4 separate regions of the Homo sapiens genome follow, and all the other regions are linked to region 1. The links are contacts of gene promoters, found by promoter capture Hi-C in blood cells and fetal thymus (Javierre and others, 2016). All regions are on one chromosome and are shown on one strand. Each heading gives the region's core, a stretch centred on a gene start or on the middle of the fragment in contact. The rest is flanking DNA. Distances are from core to core; before and after follow the strand shown.

Region 1 (5,313 bases), core at 1,699-4,198:
CAGGTAGCTCCCAGCCCTGACCCAATCGCTGACACAGGTCAAGCCACTTCTGTCCGCTGTGCTTCCATGTGACTCCTGTAAAATGTGATGGTAGGACTGATGTGGAGGATGGCAAGGATGACAATGTGACACTTAATCTTTATAAAGCAGTGTCAGCCTTAGACTCCGAATTTACGAAGATCATCTAATGTAATCCACGAGCTCCTCGGGAAGTGAGTAGAATAAGAATCCCCATTTACAGGTGAATCCACTGGGACTTCACAGAGATAAGTGACTTGCCCAAGATCACCAGCTAAGTTACATTAACCGCAGATGGCCTCCAGAGACCAGGGCCTCAAACACTCCATTTTACGTCACTTTAAAAAAAACCACTGAAGTCACCTTCTCATCACTCTGTGATTCTTTAACTCTTTGGCTTTCTTTTCCTGAAGGGACAGGGTATAAATTGCAGACTTCAAAGGCTTTGAAGGGGCAGTGGTTTTACTGAAAACTTACTGCAGGCTTCTGGAAGTGAGTCTGAGGCGCACTTATGGGGAAATGACATCATGAGGTTTCATAGCCTGGCTTCCCCACAGGTGCTCCCCTGGGGGTTTCGGGAGCCTGACAATAGCTGGCTTTTCTTCCAGCTCCGGGAGCATCTTTTCTGGCAGGTGGAAATGTAATATCACGTGGTCAGAAGGAAGGGCTCCTACTTGGATGGTGAGACTAGGATCTAGTAATTGCCAGGAAGATTCTGGGTGGTATTTCTTCACTGTGAAAAGTAGACTCCAATTCTTTAACTCTCGTATTCTATAATTTTAAATTAGGTAAATTTAATCGCTCGCTTCTTGGCTCAGCGTTACTACAAATTAAACATGCAAGTATTAATATTGAATATAATGTCCCTTTAAACAATATCCTGAAACTCGTTGTGGGGCATTTCCAATATATCCATAAAGCAAATAAAACAACTTAATTGTTTGTTTCTCTAAGGGAAGGAGCTAAACCCGAAATTAATTTAGTTCGGCCTGTGAAACAATTCGTTTGCTCTGCCTAATTCTGCCAATTTAAGAACTTTTCCCAGACACAATTAGCATGTAAATCGGCGGCGGGGAGCGAAGAAGGAGCCTCGGCGACCCCGGTTGGGTGGAGCGCGGGACAAAAAACCCCGGAGGCCGAAGGGTCCGGAGCTTCGAAGGGGCTGCAGTACCGCGCCTGGGGCGCACGGACGAGCCAGGGGACCAGCTCACACTGACCCTGCAGTCATCAGCCAAAATCTGGGTGTTAAATAGCGCAGCCGGGGATCCAGCCGTCTTGGCCGCCAGATCCTTCTCCTAACCCCGCGGGATTCTGAGGAGACGTCCTGGAGCCGGCCCCCACCCAACCCGCGGGAAAGCGCAATCCTACCCACCGCCCCACACTCCCCAACCCCCTCCCGAGGCTGGCTCTTGAAGCCGCGGGGGCTGCGCGCGCACCTAGGGCCGCGCCCCCCACTACCCCAGGTCTATAGAGGCCTTTGCCCGAGAAAGGTGGGGATAGCGGCCCCTGCTGACAGCTCTGGAGAACAGCAGGGGTACTGATTTTTTCTTTTTTTCCTACCATTCTCCCTACCTTTTCCAGGTGGTGGTAGTGGTGCGGGGGGAATGGGTGTTGACCCATGTGCATTTATTCTTCGTGAAGCCTCTTAAGCAGATGTCTGTACTTAGAGAAGCGACCAAAGAGGGAACGTGGACTTATTAGTGGTCTTAGTCCCAATTAGGGAACAGGTACAGTTTCCAATATAAAGAAACTCGGCCTAAGTGGGACTGAGACCCCGATCTCCGCACTTGCTTTTCTCAGCCAACTCCATGACTAGTAAATATCTCTCCGAGAACTGCTGGGCCGCCCGATGTTACTTTGTTTAAAGGTTGCGACTAGGATCCGTACCATCTGCGAAGCCCCCTTGGGGAGCAAGAGCCGCGGCGCGCAGTTGATTTCGGGGCGCAGCGGCAGGGGGAGGGGAACGTGGTGTGGCCCGACGAGTTGGCACAAGCCTGTAACTGCAAGACTTTGTAGCTATTGAAAGTTCAAGTGGTGAAAGAAGGCTGTGCCTGCCATTCTTCATGTGATCATAACAATAGCGCCTTGGAAGTGGTTGCGATTTTCTTCTTCCATAAACCTTTTGGGTTCTCACTGGAATTGTATGCGTGTTATTTCTGAAGTTTACTTATTTCTAAGACCAGTCCACAAAATGTGAACTTCATTAAGTTTTAAAATAGATCGCCGTCGTTAAAAACGCCATTCTCTGCACTGTAGTTTATTTGCTTACTTCACATGCTTTATTAACGTGTGTATGTGCGTAATTAATAGCTGTGTTCTTATCTTCCAAGTGTATTTTTAACCGCACCGGCTTCTATCCAATTCATCTAACTACGTAGAGCGTCCATCGCTTCTGGAATCTACCTCTTGATAACAGTAATCAGAATCAGAAAAGCTCGCCGTTCACTTACCCTCATCCTTTAAAACTTTTCCATTTAAGAAAATCGATGAACAAAACCTTTCTTGTAACTCGCTCCTGCACTACGTCTATTTTTATTTATTTTTCTGATTTGGCAGGACTCAGCAATGCTGTCCGGGATTTTTTTTTTCTTTTTTTTTTTCCTAGCTAGAGCAGATGTGGGGGTGGGGGAGGTGAGGGCTGGGCTCCAGCCAGAGTCGCCCCCGCTGAGCCTCCGCCTAGCGCGCGGTGGGGCCAGGAATCCTGGTGGAAGGAAGCGGCGCTGGCCAGTTGGTCCAAGGCTCCACCTGCAGCCACACCGCGTAGTTTCTCCGCCTCTGCCTCGCTCACTCGCACTCACATACACCACAGCTCTCCTTTGGGTCGGAGGAGACGCCAGCCAAAGTAGGCGGAGTTGCGGAAGGAGAGTCCGATCTGCGCAATCCAGTCCGGGACTTGGCTCCGCCCGGGAGCGGCGGCCTCTCCGGTGACAGAGGAGTAGTGAGCGGCACGGGGTGAGGCTGCAGCCAACTCCGCTCCCCGCGCACTCGGCTGCCCAGGCGCTCGGAACCCAGCAGCGGCGCTCCTCCGCGGTGCCGGTCGCCCGCGATGCCCGCTTAGCAGCGTGTAGCAGCGGCCAGCATCACCACACCCGCGGCACCGCGCTGCCGGCCGCAGAGCCGGGCCAGAGCCTTGCACCCCTGCCCCAGCCCCCACCCCGCCCCCCGCCCTGAAATGACTTGTTAATCGGCGCAGACACCACCAAGGGGACTCACCGAAGTGGAATCCAAGTGGAATTTGGATTTGGAGAAGAGTTTCTTGAACATTTACCCTCTTCCTTGTTGGTTTTCTTTTTCTTTTTCTTCTTTTTTTTTTTGGCTTCTTTTTTCCTCTCCCCTTCTCCGCTCGTCATTGGAGATGAACACATCGCGTTTGCATCCCAGAAAGTAGTCGCCGCGACTATTTCCCCCAAAGAGACAAGCACACATGTAGGAATGACAAAGGCTTGCGAAGGAGAGAGCGCAGCCCGCGGCCCGGAGAGATCCCCTCGATAATGGATTACTAAATGGGATACACGCTGTACCAGTTCGCTCCGAGCCCCGGCCGCCTGTCCGTCGATGCACCGAAAAGGTACGCCCCGGGCGCCCGGGCGCGCCCCACCTCCCGGGCAGCTGGACTCCAGCCTGAGGGTCCCGGGGCCGTGGCTAGCGCGTGCTGTCGGCTTTGTGGTGCCTGCGTTTTATTTTGTCTTGTGTCTCTGTTTCCCGAGCCTTGCCCGGTCCTGGGGGAGCAGCCGTGAGCCCTGCCTGCCTTTCCTCTCTGCCCTGCGCCCCAGAGTGCGTCCGGCTCCACGTCGAGAGCTTTCCCACCCGCGTTGCGCACACGCCCGGCGCCGCCCCGGGCCGCGACGGCGCGTATGGCTGTTCCTCCTGGGGGTGTGTGTGCGAGACCCAAGGCTCATCCTCCCGCGTGCCCAGCAGGGAGCAGAGCGGGCCCTAAATGGTGGGATTCTCGGAAGCTCCCTGGCCCGGTGTGTCGAAGGCAGGGGAAGGGGTTCTGCCCTCGAGGGCTGGAGGGGGTTGGGTATAACAGCGCTGTTTTCGTCCAGTGCCAGGTGGGAGAAGGGGTTCCGCGGAGACGGTGTGGAAGCGGAGAGAATCTTTTGTTGTCAGTGTGGGGTCTGGGCTGGGCTCCGTGGAGTGCAAGAAACTTGTAATGGCTCTAGGCACCCGCGCGCCCTGTCTCTCGGTGAGATCCTGGCTCCTGTGGCCGCTGCCACCAGAGGTTCCGGGCTTTGTTTGCTCGAATAAGTGTCCGGGAGCAGCCGTTCGGGTGACGCGGCGCCCCCGCCATGGGTCCTGTCCCCCGCCGCAGCTCCCAACCCGAGCGGCAAGGATATAGCCCGTCGCGGCTGCGTCCCTCCTGAAGCACCGAGCCCTTTGCACCGGGCTGGCGCACGGTACGCCCTCCTCCCAGATCAGCGCGGTCTCGCTCTGGAAAGATGACCCAGGAGGGGGAAGGGTGAGAGACCTGGCAGAAGATGGCCCTGGGTTTGAAACCCAGACTAGGGCTCTGTTCCGACTCCTCACTGTGTCCTAGGGCGCTACCATGGGGGCAATGGGGCGCTGGAGAGTAAGCCGGGCAGTGCCCACCCACCCTGCCTGATCCTTCTGGGGCGGGAAGTGTCTCTTGTCCCGATTCTCCGCGTTTTGCTCAGCTCCTCGCTGTGGGAGATGGTGCAAAACAGGATCCTGAGGTCTCCTCCCTCCTCGCAAGACCCGAGCGGCACGGGGGGAGCCAGGGAGCGGTCCCGGGCTTGTGGACGTCGGGAAAGGAAACAGAATTCCGCTGTTTTTCCCGCTCCCTCGCCGCCCCTCCGCCCAGCGCCTCCTCCCACTTTACAGCGGCGGGGTCACTAGACCAGGCGCTCCTGGAAAGTTTCCCTGAAAGCCAGGGGCGGCAGGCACGACCGGACTGGGGCTCAGCATGTGCAGTCTGAGGGAAGCCGGACCTGGAGGGAATCATGCGGACAGCTCGGGATGCAGCTAGGAGCTAGATCCCGGCCCTTTGGAGAGTGGAACCTCCTGGCCCGCGGTACTTGCTCGACAAGTCGGGGAAGGGATGAATGGGGAAGCAGGACCCCGGAGGCAGGTGCGGCCACTGTGGACAGAGGCTGTGGGGAAGGTGCGTGTGGACACAGGCCGGGGCTCAGTGGCTTGCAAGTAGGCAGCTTCAGGTGCAGAATCCCGAGCCATCTGCTCCCTGCGCACGATTTCCCAGCGTGGCTATCCAGGGAGGGAGGAAGCAGAGCCAGGTGTGCGTGGAGCGGGAGAGGAATGGGAGACTGGAGGCGCTGT
Region 2 (5,291 bases), core at 2,020-4,519, 2.2 Mb before region 1:
GTGTATAGTTACATAATTTTCCAAGCACCATTTATTAAAGAGACCGTCCTTTCCCCATTGTATGTTCTGGCACCTTTGTTGAACATGAGTTGGCTGTAAATGTGAGGATTTATATCTGTGTTTTCTATTCTGTTCCATTGGTTTGTGTGTCTTTTTTCATGCCAGTGTCATGCTGATATGATTACTATAGCTTTGTAGTAAATTTTGAAGTCAAGTAGTGTAATATCTCCAGCTTTGTTCTTTTTGCTCACAATTACTTTGGCTATTTGGGGTCTTTTGTGGTTATATATCAATTTTAGGATTTTTTTCTATTTCTGTAAAAAAATCATTGATATTTTGATAGGGATTGCACTGAATCTATAAATTGCCTTGGGTAGTATTTTTATTTTAACTATATTAAATATTCCAATCTATGGGCATGGGATAATATTCCACTTTTTTGTGTCCTCTTCAATTTCTTTTTTTAGTGTTTTATAGTTTTCCTTTTGTAAATCTTCACTTTTTTAGGTTAAGTTGATTCTCAGGGATTTTATATTTTTTGTAGCTAGAGCACGTGGGATTGCTTTCTTGATTTATTTTTTCAGATTCTTTGCTATTGGCATATATAAATGCTACTGATCTTTGTATGTTGATTTTGTATCATGTGGCTTTACTGAATTCATTTATCAGTTCTAATGGTTTTTTGGTGGATTATTTAGTTTTTTTCTAAATATAAGATCATGTCATCTGTAAGCAAGGCTAACTTGACTTCTTCATTTCCAATTTGGAAACACTTCATTTTTTTCTTCTTTTTTTGCTAAATTGCTTTGGCTGAGACTTCCAGTCCTATGCTGACTAAAGTGGTAAAGGTACATACCTTTTCCTTGTTTTAGATTTTATAAAAAAAGGCTTTCAATTTTTCTCTGGTCAGTATGATTTAGCTGTTGGTTTGTAATATTTGGCCTTTCGAGGAATGTTCCTTCTATACCCAGTTTGATAATGGTTTTTTTTTTTTTTTTTAAAATAAGGGGATGTTGAATTTTATCAAGTGCTTTTTTAAGCATCTATTGAAATGATCATATGGATTTTGTTCTTCATTCTGTTAATGTGATGTGTCACCTTCATTGATTTGCATATGTTCAACCATGCTTGCATCCCTGGTATGAATCCCTTTTGGTCATGGTGAGACCATTTAAATGTGTTGTTGAATTGGACTTCCTAGTATTTTGTTGAGAAGTTTTGCACTATATTCATGTGGGATATTTGCCTATAGTTTTCTTTTTGGTTGTGTTCTTGTCTCGTTTTGTTATCAGGGTAATGCTGGCCTTGTAGAATGAGTTTGGAAGTATTCCCTCTTCTTCAATATTTTTTGAAGAGTTTGAGTAGAATTGGTATTAGTTCTTCTTTAAACTTAAAAATTTAGTTAATGAAGATGTAGTTTGGTCAGCAGGAAAAGTGTGCCTTTGCCTTGGCTTGGGTTATGGTGACTGTTGTCTTAACAAATTAGGTATTTTTAGCATGTGTCTCTAATGTGAAGGTGGATAGTCAGGTTGTTACAGCCCGAAGTCATCAAACACGTGTTGCATTAAAACAATTACCCTAATTGTGATTCTATACGAATCTAAACACTCTTTTGAGTGTATAGTATAACCAAAATTGAGAATGTGGTAGATCTGTCTTCAGAAGCAGAATGAGCTGGCTATATAATCTCAATTCCTCTGTCCATGATCTACAAGACAACGCTGTTTCATTGTAAATTGGCAAATTAAAATTCTGGGCTATGCCTTAGTGTTGATAAGCTCAGTTAATATAAGTTGATGTCCCACAGGTAGATTCATGCTTAGTATGCTGAAAGAAAAAAATCAGATTTCTGAATTTTCTAGGAAGCAGACCAGGCCAAGTACATGAAAATGGACCTAGGTAAGGCTCTTGAAAGTCTTCTTGTCTGGTAGCCGTTTGACCCATTCTGGTGACATATGCACCTAAATACATGCACATCTTTTTTTTCCTCAAAATTCTATGATATTTACTTACTTTATAAAATTTTTTCTGTTCTCTTGTTTTCCTTATCAGAGGGTTAAGCCTTCGAAGGTAGTTATTCCTTCTTCATTTTTTTTGTGTGTATTTATCACCTAGCACAGTACCTGGCATAAAGTAAGCATTTTAATTAATACTTAGTGAGTGAAAGCATATACATTAATTGAAGTAAATGATCAGACATAAACATATAAATACAAAAGGGAAAATATAGATGGATTTGGGAACATCCACTCTTTTGGATTTTTTATACCTTACTTTACAAACATTAGCCTAATAATCAAATACCTGAATTTGTAAACAGAATTCTGTTTTCTTCTCATCCCCTATGTAGCTCTTTATGTGAGCAGTGTTTCAGTACTACCAGAGGTGGGAGATATTTAAGGATGTGGTAGGCCATAAATGCCTACTACTACTCTGTACTGACAGAGCATTACTTGTAATGTAGCAGGACAAGCTGCAGACAACACTCCTCAGACACCGAGTTAAAGAAGGAAGGGCTTTATTCAGCCAGGAGCTTCGGCAAGACTCATGTCTCCAACAACCGAGCTCCCTGAGTGAGCAATTCTTGTCCCTTTTAAGGGCTCACAACTCTAAGGGGGTCTGTGTGAGAGGGTTGTGATCGATTGAGCAAGCAGGGGGTACGTGACTGGGGGCTGCATGCACTGGTAACTAGAACGGAACAGAACAGGACAGGGATTTTTACAGTGCTTTTCTATACAATGTCTATAATCTATAGATAACATAACCGATTAGGTCAGGGGTGGATCTTTAACTACCAGGCCCAGGGTGTGGTGCCGGGCTGTCTGCTTGTGGATTTCATTTCTGCCTTTTAGTTTTTACTTCTTTCTTTGGAGGCAGAAATTGGGCATAATACACTATGAGGGGTGGTCTCCTCCCTTAGTAAGAAATGACAGGACTAGGTGAATGTAATCCAGTCTAAGCCAAGGAATGAAATCTATCTTAAGTCAAAGTAAAGCTTAAGTCTATTCCAATGACATTTTCTTTTGTTGTTTTAAAAGTCTACCCTTGTATTAAAAAAATCTGCAGAACGAATGCACCAAGGGCTCAAGAATGAGCATTGGCATTGGCATTTTCACTCCTTCTCTATAAAACAGATTGAAACAGACAGGGAAGAAAGGTAAATACCTGTGACCTTCTTTAAATTGGCTTCCACAGAAGTCATTGGGAATGAAATGAGGCCTGCAGTGAATAGTACTCAGGGAGGCCCCTCAGGTTTCCCCTCCTCCAATGGGACTTCTTTTCACTCTCAATAACTTTTTTGTGTTCTCAGGAGAAAAACAGCTAATATGCTTAGATATGAACAATTGGCTCCACATGTATCATGCAAATTTCTCAAATTTCATACGCAAAAAACTGCTGAATGACATTTCCTCAGCTGTAGCTACTGTCCATACCTCTGGGGAATGTGGACACAGTGGTAAGGTCAACCCCACAATAAGGAGGCTTTCTTGGTCTCAATAGGCACTTTATGCTCATTCAAAAAGAAATACTTCGAAAGCTTTTTTGGCCAGGGTGTGTGAGCATTGCTGTGCAAAGAGAAAGAGCCAGCTTGGGCTGGGCCAAGGGAAATTAGGCTGACCCGTGGAGGGTCCTAGAACTGGCTCTGAGGTGAGGTGGGTTGATGTGGGTTTGAAGATGACCTGCTAATACCTGGTCAGTTTACAGTAACCCTTTGCACTCGACTCACACTGGTGGATGCGAGACATGTCTAAAACATGTTTGACTGTTTTACTCACAGGCAGTTTTTCTTTGTTCTAGATTGGGCCCCTAACCATGTTTTAAACTACTGTATATTTTACCACTATTTAGGGTTATGTAGGCCAGACAAAATAATTATTCCTGAGAATAATCCTTAAGAATAGTTTATGAATTATCTATCATTTCAAAGCCAATGTTTTCACTTCTTGCAATTTTCAGGGAAAGTTTTCATCTAGAGAAAATACTACATAGTAGATTTCAGTGAAATATAGTAAAGAAATTTTAGGGAAAAATTAACTAAATTTTGGTGAGAAAAAATTTAGGGAAATTTCAGTAAGAAATTATAATTCCTATTTTGGGGTTATAAGAAGACAAGAAGGAATAGTCCAATGTGCTTTAGGTTACAGCTACAAAAAATAGTAGTCTTACGTTCAGGAAGAATTCATAATTCCTGAAGTTTAGTATAAGAGGAAAATAGAATCTGGGGATAGAAGTATTAATTGATACACGCTTATATTGGCTTGATAAATATTGATTTCCATATAGTAACATCTGACTTATCTGAAATCATTATAGCCAGTAATTTTAGTGGTTAGTAACAGAAAACCAACCAAAATGGGCTTAGCAAAAGGAGTATTTAATGGCAGTTGAAAGTGAAAAATACAAGTAGGGATGTTTGATGGAGGGGCTCAGATGGGATCACCAGGACTCTCTTCTCTCCATCTCTCATTTCTGCTTCATCTGGATTAAATTCCCCATGGTCAGTAGCATTGCTATAGCTGTTCTAGCCTTACAGACTTACTACTCTCTGCCTCTTTTCCAGGTGATCCTATAAAACTTGTGGGATTAATTCTGGTTGAACTGATTTAGGTCATGCCCACTTCTTCATCTTGACTCTGATGTGGGGAAATGCTGTGCACTGGTTGACTTAGGTCTGGGTCACTGACTTCTCTCCTGGGGCTGGGCTGGAGACCTGAAGCATCCAGTGGACTGTAAGAGAGCAAGGGATAAGTTCTCAGATGAAAATCAAAGGCATAAGACAGCATAATGGAAATGAGAAAGATCAATGTCTACCAAGTGTCCCAAAATGTATCTTATTTTAAAACATGATTTTCCTGTTTTCCATGATAGTTTATTGAGAAAAATATTTTGTAAAAAGCCTAGCTTGGTCAATAAAATGTACTTTCTCAGTACTTGATCATTTTCAAATTCCCCTGTTGACACCTTTGAAACCAATATATTGAACATTCTCCACATACAGGCTTTTCTAAAAATGTATATTGAGATAGAGTATACTAAATAGTCTCCTCCCTGTCTGAGTCCTAGGAATCTCAGCAATCCTTTCACAAATGGTGTTCTGTGAGCTGGTGTGTCTTTGGTATGAACCCACTGTGGGTGGAATGAGCTCTTTTCAGACCTGTGTGTGTTACTTCTCTTAGTCAAAGGACAAAATCCCTTACACCAGCTGGCTTATAAACAACAAACATGGATTACTCACAGTTCTAGAGGCTGGGAAGTTCAAGATCAATGTGCCAGCAAGTTTGGTGTTGGAT
Region 3 (4,843 bases), core at 1,345-3,844, 2.4 Mb before region 1:
GGAGTGGTGAGAGTGAGCAGACTTGTCATGTTCCAGTTCTCAAGGGGAATGCTTTTGGTTTTTGCCCGTTCAGTATGATGTTGGCTGTGGGTTTGGCATAGATGGCTCTTATTATTTTGAGGTAAGTTCCTTTAGTGCCTAGTTTGTTGAGGATTTTTAACATGAAGGGATGCTGGATTTTATTGAAAGCCTTTTCTGCATCTATTGATATGATCATGTGGTTTTTGTTGTTCTCTTTGTGTGATGAATCACATTTATTGATTTGCGTATATTGAACCATTCTTGTATCCTAGGGATAAAACCTACTTGATCAGATTGCAGTGAATTTGTTTTTGATGTGCTGCTGGATTCGGTTTGCTAATTTTTTTTGAGGATTTTTGCATTTATGTTCATCAAGGATATTGGCTTGTAGGTTCCATTTCTTCTAGGTTTTCTAGTTTATGTGCGTGGAGGTGTTCATAATAGTCTTTTTTTTTTTTTTTTGTCTTTCTGTGGGGTTGGTGTTAATGTTATATTTGTCATTTCTGATTCTTTATTTGGATTTTCTTTTTTTCTTTATTAGTCTAGCCAGTGGTCTTTTGTTGTTGTTGTTGTTGTTGTTGTTGTTTTTCAGACGGAGTCTTGCTTTGTTGCCCTGGCTGGAGTGTAGTGGCGTGATCCCGGCTCACTGCAAACTCCACCTCCCGGATTCACGCCATTCTCCTGCCTCAGCCTCTGGAGTAGCTGGGACTACAGGCACCTGCCACCACACCCGGCTCATTTTGTTTTTGTATTTTTGGTAGAGACGGAGTTTCACTGTGTTAGCCAGGATGGTCTCGAGCTCCTGACCTCATGATCTGCCCACCTTGGCCCCCCAAAGTGCTGGGACTACAGGTGTGAGCCACCGCGCCTGGCCGCCAGTGGTCTGTCTGATTTATTCTTTCAAATAACCAACTTGTGGTTTCACATGAAAACTTATATTAATTATAGATCTAGTAGGAACAAACATGTCTAGGCCAGTGATATAATTATTTTGATTACATACTGCAGTTGATTTAAAAAAATTAGGGTGCATTTTAATAGATAGGCTTATTTTTCTCTAATTACACACACTTATTGTATATTAGTATATGATGCACCTCATAAAACATACACAAAACTAGATATCAAAAAAGGAAGAAGTATTGGTGAGATAAAGTCTTTAAAAATGTTTTGGTCAGTAATGATAGTATAATGGAGTCTCACTATTATTATTTATTATCTCAAAGCACAATATATATTTCGGGTGAGATTCCCTGTTAAGGATAGTAAGATGCAAGTCCACAATTCAAATAAACTTGATAATTTCTTCACTGCTCTAGGCATGCCCTCTGGGGCACAAGTCTCTGAAACTCTCATCTAAAGACATTTATTCTTGGGAGTGTTTCTGAATCTATTCCTTTGTGGGAGGCTGCCCAATTCGCAAAAAGAAAAACAAATGTGTATATATATTTAAAACAGATATATATTATATATATCACCGTTTTAGGATAGGACAACTTCACACTGTAATTAAAAAATCACAACAGTGGCCAGGTGCGGTGGCTCACACCTGTAATCCCAGCACTTTGTGAGGCCAAGGCAGGCAGATCACGAGGTCAGGAGTTCGAGACCAACCTTGCCAACATGGTGAAACCCCATCTCTACTAAAAATACAAAAATTAGCCAGGCATGGTGGCGCGCCCCTGTAATCCCAGCTACTTGGGAGGCTGAGGCAGGAGAATTGCTTGTACCCGGGATGTGGAGGTTGCAGTGAGCCGAGATCATGCCACTGCACTCCAGCCTGGGTGACAGAGCAAGACTATGTCTCAGAAAAAAAAAAATCACAACAGTATATTTTTTCTAAGTCTATCCTTCCTCCACTCCTAAAGCCAGTTATAAGAGAATCTAGTAAGGAAAACAATTTTGCAGGGTATGGGAATATTATTGTTATTTGTACTTGAAGCAGTCAGACATGGAAGATGTTATCTACTTCTGTTTTGGAGATGAAAATGTATTATAATGTTAATCATGTAAAGCTATTTCTACTTTTATTGGTTATGTTGGATATATAGTTTCAGAAATCTGACAATGACTTTATCTTACAGATCACGTTAGTTTCTTTAAAATGACAGCAGAGGGCACTATGGTATTTAGTTTTCCAAAGCCAGTTTTAAAATTGGAAAATTGTTGCCATTTTTATGTGTAATGCAGTGTATCTATTCAACTAGTTGAATGAATAGCTATGAAACTTTTTGTTCTTTGCTTTTTCGCTATGTTAGGAGTATAAAAATTTTGTTGAGTATTGGTAAAGTTGAGGTGCACTATTTTTCTGGGTTCCACATTTGCTTTTGTTTAGTACTCTTTAAAAAGAGTACTTGTAAATCTGTTCACTAATCTTTAAAGTTTACTTATTTGAATCACCTTGATTAAAATCAGTACTGTGAGAAAAAAGCTTTCAGTGAATATTATATAAGAAATTTAATTAAAGCTTTGAAAGATTTTTTTGTAGGTCCTAGCATCTCTAGTCATATGTCAGATATAATTTTATTAGCCCACAGGCTGTCAGAGATAGTATGCCCAGAGTGATACACATTACCTTTGTATTACAGCATTTGTTTAGGAAGCAAGTCAGTCTTAGTCTGACAGGAAGCCCATGTATTTATTTCTACATCCTTAATGAGAAAAGAAGAAAAAGCTTATTTCACAGAATTTCCTTGGGGAAATGATTTGAAGGTTTCATTTATATTTTAAGAATGTAATTACATTAATTGGGTTGTATAGGTTTTAAAGAAGATAAACCCCGATGAGCGGAAAAATACATTGTAAATACATTATAAATATAGAAAAGGGAAAAATCTCAGCACCTATTTTGGTCAGTCTGTTATAAATTAGCTCAAAATAATAGCCAGAATGTTTGCCTGTAATGCAGTAGTTATTCCCCAGAACTCTCTTGTTGCCTTATTGTTACCAGTTTTGTTCGGAAGGAAATTGAAAATCTGTGACATGCCCAAGGTCACATAGCAAGACAATAACATTGGTAGTGACATTATAATAGTTATTCCCCAAACCTATACCCAGTTGACCAGTGTATATTTCTTTAGATGTTAGTTTTTATTTCTCATATCTATATAAATTCTAGAAGTAGCTTGATTAAAAAAAAATGAATATTCATTATTTACAAATAATCAGTTTTGATATATAGTTATGTGATATTTTTTGCCTGTCAAGTATAATAGTTCATAGGAAGCAAGGAACTTTTTTTTTTTTTTAAGAGATAGGGGTCTTGCTGTGTTGTCCAGGCTGGAGCATAGTGGCTATTCACTGGTTGTACTACTACAGCCTCAAAGTGGGCTCAAGTGATCCTCCTGCCTTAGCCTCCTGAGTAGCTGCACCCTGCTATGTGCCTGGAGAAGCAAGGAACTTTTAAAAAATTATTTCTGGCACAGTGAGAACAAATAAGCTCCATGAGGGTAGGAATCTTTGTTCTTTTTATTGTCCCAAGTGCCTAATATCTGGCACTTAGGTATGCAGTAAATATTTGAATAAAAATTTGTTGAATTTATAAATTATTCAATCCATTATTAATTTAAATATTTAAACCTTCTAGAGAGATTTTAGAATGAGGAGAGCAGTTACTCTGCACTTACCCACTAGTTTAGGAAGAGATGGTTTAACAGTTGGTCAGCTAATCACCATTACCATGCATGCAGAGCATTGTCGGGGAGGAAAGATTGATAGTAAGGTAATAAAGCAGAAATGCGTCCTATAAAGTAACTTGCTAAATATAAAGCTAGTTGAGATGTTTTAAAGAGCTACAGTTTTATTAGTTTGAAGTAATTATAAGTAAAATTAGGTTAATAAAGAGAATATGCTTTAAAGTAAATAGAAAATGTTTTGTGAGCATATAAAATCATGAGTTAAAGCAATTAGTTTTAGGTTAAATCACGCTTATAGTGTTTACACATAAATTGTTTAGCTATTTTTTTAGTAACTGTTTTCTTCAGTAAATATTTTTGTCTTTTATGTGCGATCACTTATCAAAATGATCACAAAATATAATAAAGGAAGACCTGACACTCTGAATTTCATTTGTAATACAAATGAATTACTTAAGTACCAGAGAGGGCATAAAGGAGAAATTAAACTTTGATATATAAAAAAAAATTAACGAATGGGATAGAAAATTGTATAGGAGGAGAAAAGCATTCAAAGGTTTAGAGAAGACGGAATGTAAAGATATTCCTTCAGGCTGGGCACGGTGGCTCACGCCTGTAACTTCAGCACTTTGGGAGGCCGAAGCAGGTGGATCACTTGAGGCCAGGAATTTGAGAAACTTCACCTCTACAAAAAAAAATCCAAAAATAACATTAATTATTCAAATACAAAAATTAGCCAGATGTGGTGGTGCACACCTGTAACCTCAGCTACTCACGAGGCTGAGGCATGAGAATTGCTTGAATTGGGAGGCGGAGGTTGCAGTGAACTGAGATCATGCCACTGCACTCCAGCCTGGGTGACAGAGTGACACCTGTCTCAAAAAAAGAAAAAAATCCTTTATGTATTCAGCAATATCTATTGAGCACCTACTATGCCAGGTGCTGGGGATATAGCAGTGAAAAAGGTAGGCTAAGTCCTTGCCTCCCTGTAGCTTACATTTTAGAGAAGGAAACCCACATTCAGCTAACATAATGTCAAATAGTAGTAAAATGCTGTGAAGAAAAATCAGTCAGAATAAGGGGATAGAGAGTGATAGTGAGAGAAAAGGTGGATGATTTGATTGATTGATTGATTCATTGCTAGGGTTTTTCTCTCTCTGTTGCCCAGGCTGGAGTACAGTGGTGTG
Region 4 (5,086 bases), core at 2,065-4,564, 2.0 Mb before region 1:
TATCGTGGAGCTGAATTGAACCCTCTTAAAACCCCCTGTGCTGTGGCAGCAATAAATGATCCCTACAATGCATTAATATTCAGTGTATATTTGGGCTTATTTTAGAGACTTAATAAAAGTATAGTGGCTGGACATGGTGGCTCATGCCTGTAACCCTAGCACTTGGGATTAGGAGGCAGGAGGGAGGAGGACTGCTTGAACCCAGGAGTTTGAGACCAGCCTGGGCAACATAAGGAGACCTCATCTCTACGAAAAAAGTATGTCCTATAGCAAGATAGAAGAGGTAGATTCTATACATTCTACACTTATATTTCCCCAAATCTGTGTGAGCCTATGTGAACCCAGGCAAGTCATTTAATGTTACCCATTTCCATCATCTGAAGAATCAAGGGGTTGGGTTACAAGATGATACATAAAATTTCTAATAGTTTCTCTAAGATTTGGAACTCAAATGGATGATTGTGAATGCCTATAGAAGATCATGGTGAAATCTTTGAAGCGAGCTGGTAATGTAGTGCTAGTATTTGCAGATTGATAGGCATGAGTGCTGATAAAAGGAGAGAGAGGTCATTGGAGCAGGCTTTGATGATGGATGTGACTAGTTGATCAAGGGAAGAAAAACAATAGGCTGGAGAATGGAAAGAAGATGATGACTGCTGGAGTAAGTAATTAAGATTCTTATCCTCTGGTGACATTAGGCAGGGTTCTGGAAATCTTCATGCCTTGGGTGGATTTGCAGACTAAACTCAATAATTTATTGTTCATTTTTGTTCTCCTTACATTATTTGAGCTCCTTAACCCTGAGAACTTAAAGAAGAATGGAAAGCTATGCATTAAAGATAGAAATAGTGGCAGGAATATTTTCTTAGCTTCTTGGTTTCCTGTACTTGGCTCCAGGATGCAGACTTTCACAAATTCAGGCACACTTTCTTTAGGGAGGAATGTGGCTTAGAGTTAAAAGATGTTAACACTCCTTGGGGACTATTCTTATAGCTGCCTGAGTGGCAGGGTACTGTGACCTTGAAGAGAACCAAGGAGAAAGAACAGGTTTCAGGAGATAGGTATCATGCCAGTTGTAGCAATTGTGACCCATCCAGCTTCTGTGCATCAGAGTTGAACCATCTTTTCACTGGTTTCTCTCCTTGAAAACATTAAAAGTGAGTATTTATCTCTCGTTGGCTTATTTATTCCTCAGACTCAAAATGGAGAATGCATTGAATTATTTTCTCTGACATAGAGATAAAGTTTTTATACACTTAGAAAGCTCTTTCTTTGTTATTTTTTTGGTTTCAGTATATCAGTAGAGAGTTATCTTTTCATATATAATACTAACTTTTTAGATTTTTAACATTGTTATGGTAGTTTTAGTTTTCTTTTTTTTTTAACAAAAGGGGGAGATAAATCTGTGGATGAATGTTTCCTTACCTAGGCTGAAATCTCTTAGATATTTTCTTTTCTGTAAACCTCTGAGGCAGATGGTTTCAAACTTTCTCACTTTCAGAAACTTAGTGCCCTTAGTGATTCAGTATATTTTTCACAGTCACGCCTAGGCCAAAAGAAAAACCTAGCAGTTGTGTTTATTAAGTACATAGCTCCAAACAATTTAAGTATTTATACCTAACAACTTAACAGCTTTATGAAAAAATAATATACATAAGTTACCTGTGAGATTACTGTAGTATCCGAGAACACCTTGGCAAACAGTTTGGGAACCATGACTCTCAGAATAGATAACCGCAGATGGAATTTAAAGAAATTCCCACTGCAGTAGAGAGTTAGGTGGACAACTAACAACTTCTATATGGCCTGTCATTATCCAGATGGTGGGAAGCTGAGACATTACAATCTGGGCAACTAGAAAGGCAGGTGTGGTAGTAGCAGGAAGGAAAGTTGATGGCCTTCTTGGGAAAAAGCTGAGAGAAAATCCTTGGCTAATTCTAACTCAAGGAATGCAATGAAGGTCCTTGGAAGACAGAGTCAAGTTCGTTCCAGTGTCCCCACCTCAGTGATTGCTGGTGAGGTGAATGGATTTTATACATGTAAAGTGCCCAGATAGTCTCAAGTCTCAGTCTTTATGCAGTCTCATAATGTAATGTTTGATATATGCATTATATAAATTTTGCTGCTACTTAAATTCATTGATGAAACTCTGTGGAGTGTGAGTCCTACCCCTGCATTTCAGATAACACCAAGAGTGCAAGAACTGGGGCAATATGCTATCTATCAGTGTTCCTTATGGAATTTGGGTGTTACATCTTTTTTTTTTTTTTTTTTTTGTTTTTGAGATGGAGTCTCGCTCTGTTGCCCAGGCTGGAGTGCAGTGGCGCGATCTGGACTCACTGCAAGCTCCGCCTTCCGGGTTCACGACATTCTCCTGCCTCAGCCTCCCGAGTAGCTGGGACTATAGGCACCCGCCACCATGCCCGGCTAGTTTTTTGTATTTTTAGTAGAGATGGGATTTCACCGTGTTAGCCAGGATGGTCTCGATCTCCTGACCTCGTGATCCACCTGCCTCGGCCTCCCAAAGTGCTGGGATTACAGGCGTGAGCCACTGCGCCCAGCCTGGGTGTTACATCTTAATAATACTTGCTATTATAACATTTCCCAGAGTGTGTTCCATGGGAATTAATTGATGCTACTTGAAAATAATGTTCTGCAATTAGACGTGTTTGATGAATGCTGGGTTAAAACAAATTATGCTGGGCTTCACAGAGCCTTTAATATGTTAGTCTACATTGTAAAGCTTCGGGAGGAGAGATAATAGCATAATTTATTCCCTAAGCTTCATTGATCAAGGAAACTTTTTATATTGAATGAAACATCTTATAGATTCATGTTTCATAGAATATACTTGGGGTGAGTAGTTCCAAAGGATCTTTTTAACCTATTTCTTTTGAATTATTTGAATAGATATTTACTGATCAGGGCTCTGATTTATCTGATATTGTCTTTCACGTTGGGATTACAAATTGAACCCTAACGTTATTTTTATGAGAAAGGACAATGTATTTTAAATCAGTTCTTTTGCACACTAGTTTTCTTCAATGCACCATGGTTTAGGTGTGAATCATCTGTATAGTGTGATTGCGTTTCCAACATTCTAATGCTGAATTATGTATATAACACAATTCATAATTTACTGACAATTTCCTTGCAGATGAGTGCTTCTAGTCATCAGAATATAACAATGCACATTTATTTCCAGTTATCCACAAAGTCTTCAAGCCTAATAATACATGTTTTTTAAACTTGTATTATTTAAAGGGGGAACCTTTTAAATTCCTAAGTATATGCTGTATCACATAAGTTTGGTGCCCCCATTAAAAACATAACAAACCCTCTTGCCTTTCTAGGTTTTGGATAAGTTGGCAAAAAACCAGAGAAAATGTAGATACCAAAATATCAAATATAAAGTCTGTTATTGAAATGGTCAGGTTAATATTGAACTCCAGAATTAGGCAGACATAACCGTTCAAATCCAGTTAGCATTAGAGTGAGGTAGGCCTCCCCCTACACAACTTATGCCAAACATATGCTTTCCTCAGATAAAGCTAGTTGTACAGAAGAAGGAAGGGGGCTGAGTCTTGCATCCTTCTACTGCCCCCATTTTACCTGGTCCCTAGGAGTAGTGTGAGACTGGGACAAGTGATCTGGGATTACACTGATTAGCATGCTTCACAGGAGGGAAATATAAGGAGAAAGGAAGAAGTATTTCTCAGTAACATCCGAGTTAGCCAGGAAGGCTCAGGAAATCCCTGTTTGGTGATGAGATCATTGTATCATTGTTTAGAGATTTCTAATTCATGATGCAATGTATTTTTAAATGGTAAGTTTTAGAAAGCTTGTTTTTATAATTCTAAACTCTTTCAGACATCAGTTGTGTATCTAATCTTTTGTTTACAGGACCTACTCAATCTAAATCAGAAAAAGAACAGGCTGAAGCTACAAATAAGATAAAAAGAAGTAGAAATGACTGTCTTGTATTTATAAAATGGCGATCATGAGATTTCATGTTAATGACTGACTACCGAGACATGCTATTTGGCTCTATGTGTCTGTTTCCCACAGAAAGGATGTCAGGCCTGGTGTTGATGGGCAAGCTGTCCAGAACATGGGTACCACACGTGCAGCACGGGCTCGGGCCTCAGAGTCAGGCACGCTGGAGCACTCATTGCAGCTCAGGTGCCACCCACAGGGCGAGCTCACACATGCTCACTCTGGTGAGTGCTGATAGCAGAAAGGATGCCTAGGCTCTCCTTCTATATGAAGAAATTAAATACATTATTTAGGACTAATTTTAAATTAGCTAGGTCTCTTTTTTAAATGAAAAAAAAAAAACTGGGAGAAGGATGATTTGACATTATGAAAGCAGTTTGTAAGGGCTTTTCATATAAAGCAACTCTAGAGGAACTAGAAGTGTGAAGACACCCAGGCAAACTTTGGTCTCCAGGTTAATTCAGGGCAAGTTAAAAGAGGAGTCTGTCCAAACCTGGGGTAGAATCCCAGGGTGAGAAGCAGTGTTTGAGCTGTTGACACTTAATAACAAATAAAACTAATAGTAGTGCAGATATTTGTATTTATTTAAATCTCTTTCTAACTGAATGTCTTTAAAACACAGTATAAAGAGATTAGGAATACTTTTTAAAATAAATTTTAGTGATCTTAATATTGAGGCTTTATTTTTTTAAGTGAAAAGAGTTAGTAAGGTAAAGGTATCCCTTCTTCTCTCCTTCCTTTTTTTTCTTCTGTTGAATTCACCACATTTACGGGAGAACTGAATATCCAATGTTGATGTCATAACCATGCACTCCTCCTCTTTCTGATAGTTGTATATCCAAATAATAGGTCGAATATCTCAGAGAAAATAGCTATGTTCTTAAGTGCTTTGTTGTTGTGTCTTAAATATATACAATGTTTTAAATATATACAATGAAATATATACGTAAGGGTTTATAGAAGTTTAAATACCAGCTGTGTAACTATGATTATTTTTCTAGGAAAATCTAGACAAAATTGATAGGTTTCATTTTTAAAAATCAGAAAAAGTTATAAAGGGATTTTTATAAGTAAAATATTTTATTTTAAA

The links. The method cuts DNA at HindIII sites, captures the fragments that hold promoters and counts their contacts. A CHiCAGO score of 5 or more calls a contact.
Region 2: a contact is called between a fragment that was not itself captured here and the fragment with the promoter of SEMA6A in region 1, in 1 of 17 cell types (endothelial precursors). The highest score is 6.2, in endothelial precursors.
Region 3: a contact is called between a fragment that was not itself captured here and the fragment with the promoter of SEMA6A in region 1, in 1 of 17 cell types (endothelial precursors). The highest score is 8.6, in endothelial precursors.
Region 4: a fragment that was not itself captured here is called in contact with the fragment with the promoter of SEMA6A in region 1 in 1 of 17 cell types (M0 macrophages); the score reaches 5.2 in M0 macrophages.

Annotation. Positions count from the first base shown.
Region 1 is chr5:116,572,458-116,577,770 of GRCh38, reverse strand. It overlaps SEMA6A (semaphorin 6A), which reads left to right and starts at 2,948. Exons shown (of 19, transcript NM_020796.5): 1 at 2,948-3,586. It overlaps SEMA6A-AS2 (SEMA6A antisense RNA 2), which reads right to left and starts at 3,353. Exons shown (of 3, transcript NR_147170.1): 1 at 3,232-3,353. RefSeq lists enhancers at 1-252, 4,890-5,313 and a silencer at 3,113-3,192. The HindIII fragment of the contact is 8,307 bases long and covers 1-5,313 here.
Region 2 is chr5:118,798,377-118,803,667 of GRCh38, reverse strand. No RefSeq gene overlaps it. Among named protein-coding and RNA genes, the nearest start is that of MIR1244-2, 170 kb to the left of the region's middle. RefSeq lists an enhancer at 3,306-4,505. The HindIII fragment of the contact is 543 bases long and covers 2,998-3,540 here.
Region 3 is chr5:118,954,225-118,959,067 of GRCh38, reverse strand. All of the region lies in intron 1 of DTWD2 (DTW motif tRNA-uridine aminocarboxypropyltransferase 2), which reads left to right. Among named protein-coding and RNA genes, the nearest start is that of MIR1244-2, 18 kb to the left of the region's middle. The HindIII fragment of the contact is 207 bases long and covers 2,491-2,697 here.
Region 4 is chr5:118,606,217-118,611,302 of GRCh38, reverse strand. LINC02215 (long intergenic non-protein coding RNA 2215) reads right to left here. Exons shown (of 5, transcript NR_104998.1): 2 at 1,426-1,564. Among named protein-coding and RNA genes, the nearest start is that of LINC02215, 13 kb to the right of the region's middle. The HindIII fragment of the contact is 1,059 bases long and covers 2,785-3,843 here.